Linked DNA regions of Homo sapiens: region 1 is linked to region 2. Evidence: promoter capture Hi-C in 16 types of primary human blood cells and fetal thymus (Javierre and others, 2016). All regions are on one chromosome and are shown on one strand. Each heading gives the region's core, a stretch centred on a gene start or on the middle of the fragment in contact. The rest is flanking DNA. Distances are from core to core; before and after follow the strand shown. Region 1 overlaps PGM5 (phosphoglucomutase 5). Region 2 holds the start of TMEM252 (transmembrane protein 252).

What was found. The method cuts DNA at HindIII sites, captures the fragments that hold promoters and counts their contacts. A CHiCAGO score of 5 or more calls a contact.
Region 1: a fragment that was not itself captured here is called in contact with the fragment with the promoter of TMEM252 in region 2 in 1 of 17 cell types (neutrophils); the score reaches 6.4 in neutrophils.

Annotation. Positions count from the first base shown.
Region 1 is chr9:68,423,348-68,426,047 of GRCh38, forward strand. All of the region lies in intron 6 of PGM5 (phosphoglucomutase 5), which reads left to right. Among named protein-coding and RNA genes, the nearest start is that of PGM5-AS1, 67 kb to the left of the region's middle. The HindIII fragment of the contact is 9,480 bases long and covers 1-2,700 here.
Region 2 is chr9:68,539,517-68,542,216 of GRCh38, forward strand. TMEM252 (transmembrane protein 252) reads right to left here and starts at 1,367. Exons shown (of 2, transcript NM_153237.2): 1 at 1,021-1,367. The coding sequence starts at 1,298. It overlaps TMEM252-DT (TMEM252 divergent transcript), which reads left to right and starts at 1,509. Exons shown (of 5, transcript NR_187592.1): 1 at 1,509-1,714. The HindIII fragment of the contact is 3,743 bases long and covers 892-2,700 here.

The DNA of each region.
Region 1 (2,700 bases), core at 132-2,631, 120 kb before region 2:
AGAAGTGTTCCCTGTTCACCGCATCCACACCAACATCTACTATATTTTTTTATTTTTGGATTATGGCCATTCTGCAAGGGCGAAAATTTAAAAGAACACACAAGAACCTGAATTTGAAAGAGTAAATGGTGGTGAGGCACCTTTGAAGGGAGAGTGCTCTGAGGAGCAGGACTGAAGAGCTTGGTGTTGAGAATGGCATGCAGAGCTGACATTAGGTTCAATCAGGTTGTTTCTCTTCCCCTGGAATGGCAGCCTTTGGGAAATAACCCCAAGAGCACAAAATCTCTCTCTCTCTCTCTCTCTCTCTGTCTCTCTCTCTCTCTCTCTCTCTCTCTGCCTCCCTCTTTCTCTCTTTCTTTTGGGGGCTGAGGCCCTTGAAGACCCTTTGCAATTCCATAAATAGTCAGAGACATCCCTCAAATACTACACCATGTTCCTCTGCATGGGAAAAGTGTGGTCACGCATACACGTAACTCCATTCCCTCCCCTCCTTTCCTCCTTGCAATGGAAGGAGCAGGAAGTGGACAAGAAAACAGAACAGTATTAGAGAAACAGAATGTACCTAAATGGGGAAGACTGGGCTGAATTTGAGGAGGCTGAGTTTTACTTCCAAACCCACCCAATTCACTACTGCTGTATCTCTTGACAAAATAAGTAGACATAGTCTGTGGCCAATTTTCTTCTAACTTCATCTCAGAACTCCTCTCTCCTCTCTATGCATATCTGCCCTCCGCAAGCCTCAGACCTCATGATGAACGAGGAAGGTAAAGCATCTGGAAAAGTTTCCTATGAAGAGCTGCTGAAAAAGCCTGAGATGTTGTTTAGTGTAGAAAAGACTCAACTTTGCATTTCCCACAAAGTGTTTCATGGAACACCCTTTGTCTTAGTCTGTTCCAGCTGCTGTCACAAAATAACACAGACAGTGTGGCTTATGAACAACAGAAATTTATTTCTCACAGTACTGAAAGCTGAGAAGTCCAAAATCAAGGAGCTGGTGTGTTGGGTGTCTGGTGAGGGCCTGGCTTCCTGGTTTATACATGGTTTCTTCTTGCTGTGTCCTCACATGGTGGAAGGGGCAAGGCAGCTCTCAGGGGCTTCTTTTATAAGGGCTCTAATCTCATTCACAAGGGATCTGCCCTTGGGATCTAATCACCCCCAAAAGGTCCCACCTCCTAAAATCATATTATTGATAACTAGATTTCAACATGTGAATTTTGGGTCAACCAAAGCTATAGCACTACTCACAAGAAATGTTAATGGGTGTTCTTAAACAAGGCAGAAGGGTTCCATGGACAAAATAAATTTGGAAAAGGATGAAATAAATATAAAGCAAGTTTCTTAACTTCTTCACTTTTCATAGCTTTTGACAGATTGTTGTGATTCTCCAGTAAGGACTACAGAATGTAGCATTTCCCAAACATATTTGACCAATGAACTACCATCCCAGGTGTACCTATTAATGTCTCTTAGGGGACTAGTGGGAGGTTGCACTGTTTGATTTTAAAGAACGCTTGCAAAACCAGACACCATGACTTCAAGTTGCCCTTATTAGTTAGACCTGTCTTCTGAGGTCCAAAATTGACCTCCTTCTTCCTTTCTCTGAAATTCATATAATTATATGATTAAACAAATTTCTACTAAGACAAATTTGGTATAATCCTCTAGCTCTTCATTTGTTATTCATTGTTTTAAAAGTTTCTTATTTGAAATAAACAGTTAGATAATTATAATGGGAGATCATCTTTTTTGAGGGCTTTTCTGTATGCTCTTTCTAGTATAAGTCACCTCTTTCTCTTTTACTGTTCCTTGGCAAGCAAAAACACAAGTTTAGGAACAAGCCAGAGTTATCAAAAGTTCTACAGGAGTGAGGAAAAAAAGAGCAAGAGGAACGCAGGAGAGGCAACTCACTTGATGACATGGCAGAAGCATCCAAGCTGCTGAATTGTTTTCAAAAGATGGCAGGCAGGGCCCACAGTGAAAGCATCCCATCTGGTTGTCCAATCCACCATGAAAGGGGTCGAGAGTGGTAAGGATTAGAGTAGAGGAGATTCCCAGGAGCTATTGCTGGTGATGGAGGGATGTGGAGACTTTCCATTGTTTATGTACATTAGAGAAGATTGACTTGAAATTTCATAAATATATATCTTATCTTATATTCCTTAATGTACATAATGGAGAAAAAAACCCAAGAGAGCACTCCAAGAGGAGTTGAGTTTGGATCAAATCCTATCCTAAGCATTATCCTATTTTGGAGTTGAGATACCTACATTTTAGAAATATTTTTAATCCAGAATAGGTCACATGCTAAATATTCTGGGTAAATGGTGTTTATTTGTTCATTGTTTTTTTTCTTGGCATGTGGAAGAGAAATCATCTTGAATCAATTGTGTTCATTGGCCAAACAGTATGATAATTTGTTAAATTTTACTGATTAATGATGCAGAGTCTTGACTTTCATTGTAAGTAAACTCAGGACACAAAAAGCACTAAGAGATGCCCAAAGTGGTTTTCTATAATTTAAATGGAAATAAATTTGTATCGAAAGTACACTAGATTTCACATTTCACATCCTTTTAGTTTTAGATTTAAAAAAAGAGCGATACTTTCTGACTTCTCAGCTAAGATTTTTATAGTGGTAGTGGTTGTTGATATTTGGTGTGTAAAACCTCTTTATGCTGCTTTAGCTATATATTTTTTAAG
Region 2 (2,700 bases), core at 117-2,616:
AGTACTCATGTAAGTGGAATTATACAATATTTGCCCTTTGTAACTGACTTGTTTCACTTAGCATAATGTTTTCAACTTCATCCAAGTGGTGGCATGTGCCAGGATTTCCTTCCTTTTTAAGGCTAATATTCCATTGCATGTATATACCACATTTTGTTTATCTACTCACCTGTTGATGGACATTTGGGCTATTATGAATAAATGTTGCTACAAGCATTGGTGTACAAACATCCATTTGAATCCCTGCTTTCAGTTCCTTTGTGTATAAACTCAGAATGTAGAATTGCCAGATCAAACAGTAATTCAATATTTAATGTATAGAGGAGTCTCCACACTGTTTTCCACAGTGGTTGCACCATTTTAACATTCCCACCAGCAATGCACAGCGTTCCAATTTATTGACATCCTCACCAACACTAGCTGTTTGGTTTTGTTTTTTGATGATAACTATCCTAATGTATGAGATGGCGAGAAAGAATGAATCTTGCCTCTAGAATATTATCACCTTCCCCTGAAGGAATGTTTTATGCAAGGTGAGATCACAACACCTAAAAGGACAGTAAACTGGGACTTTTCTGAGCTCACAGAGATTCCAGGACTCATTTTATGCCTGCTTCTTCATTTGTTGTGTGGCAGAATTTGGTCTGGGACTTGCTTTCCTTAGAACCTCATAGCCAGGTTATGGGAAGTAACTAACCATCACCTGCCACTAATTAATGACAGCTGCCATGATATAACAAAAGAGCCTGGGTTTCTAAATTGGCTTAGGTGGGTTTTCACTGGGGGTGGTGGTAGGGTTTCTCTGAGATGAGTTGCCCCTGCGTCATGGTTTTCCCCAAAGATGGCGCCACTCTTCCTAATAACAACCCCAGAGTAATTCCCTGACAATAAAGCTTTGGTTCTAGACAGACAGCCCATGGGACATGTAAGTCGCTCCATAGTAGGATCAGAAATTACTCAGATCTTACACAACTCAGCCCATCTCAGCCCTTCTTGGTCCCTCTGCCTGTCAGCACGTACCTGTCTACTGTGGCCACGGGCAGGGCCCCATGAGCAAGGTGTTGTCGGAGCATGTGCCTCAACACTCCTTTGCTTTCAGTCACCTGGCGATAGTTGCTCCAGAAAATTCCACTCAGAAGGATCACAAACCCCAGAGGCAGAAGCAAATAGGCCGCAATCAGGCTCCCCTGACAGTCGAATATGGAGCCCCAGGAAATGAAGAAGGCCCCCAGGCAGACCATCAGGAAACCCATCAGGAGGGCAAGAGCACAGAGAATGAGGCCAGTTCTGTTCTGCATCCTTGCACCTTAGGAACCCAGCACCCTGACCCTGCTGCTCCTCTGCTTCCCTGCTTGCTCCAAGAGAATGAGCTCATTAGCCAGCTTGCAGCTTTATATGCTCTGGGACCCACTGGCCTTTGGACAACTAAATGAAACAGGCACTTAGAAGCTATTCATTAACCATTGAAAGTAAGTGTAATATCCTTGGAGAATTAGCCAAAAAACATAGCATTGTATACTGCAGGCAGGAGTGGCTTCGTGTAGCTGTTTTGTTCTTCAGAGTTGGGTGGGACACTCAGCTGTTCCCAGTTATTTGAACGTACAGCCCTCCTTTGATTAAAAGGCGCTGGTCTCTTAATCCCCATGGAGGGCAATTCCCCACTAAAAGCTGGAGAAGTTAGCACTCTTTAAAGAACGATCTTCTTTGAGGTTTGGTAAGAAATCCCTTCCTGATTCCTTCTCCCTTTTTCTGTACTAAAAAGGCATTTCTTCAAGGCTGTTAACATGTTTGTCTTGCCTCCCTCAATGAATCCCCACTTATTGCCCCCACACTATGATACTGGCATAATTCCAAGACAGAAGTTCAGAGTGTGAACTTCGTGGTTCCTGCTCTGTTGACAAGATCGAAAGAGCCTGAGTGGGAGGGAAAGGAGAGTGCTGGAGAAAAGGACTATAATAGACAGAGCCTCGGGAATTTGGGGGGATTTTGGGCCTGTAATTCCTGCAATCTTTCCCCCTTTCATAAAGTACATATGAAATAGAATTCGTTTTAGAGGATGCTGCTAAAAATGTTCCCTGTCCTCTCCTCCACACCTCTGCTCTATGTAGCATTGCCTCAAAAAATCTTTCCAGAACCAGCCTTCTGTTTCCTGGCTGGAATTTGTTTTCTTTAGCTTGACTGTCTTTGATTGTGGATAGCTTATTTCAGACGTGCTTTATGCCCTGGCTCTGCCCTTTTTTATTTGATAATGTGGCATGTCTCTGCCAAAAGTCTCCTTCCCATAGGAACCCTGGGTTGCTTTTACTCAGGATAGCTTATCTTCAGTTCCTCTTTGCTGCTGTTCCACTCCACTACTCCATTACCATTATTTTCCATTTACTTTCCCAATGAGAGCAGCAGTTTTTTGTGGCGTGCCCTAATAATCCCTCATATAACCTTTAGTCTCACACTCACCATCTCCTTAGCTCTACCTTCATGTTAGGGCTGGGAGACACGGATATTAGAGAGGTACACACTATGGATCAAAAACTATATAAGGCACTTCTCCATTCCAACCCTTAGCCTTTACCTTTCTTAGCTTCAATTTCGACCTTGAACTACCTTGATCTTCTAGTCTTGATATTGTCTTTGTAATCTTAAAACAGCTCTTATTCCCTCCTTCCCCAAACTGTGAGATGGAATATTTCTAAGATGATCCCT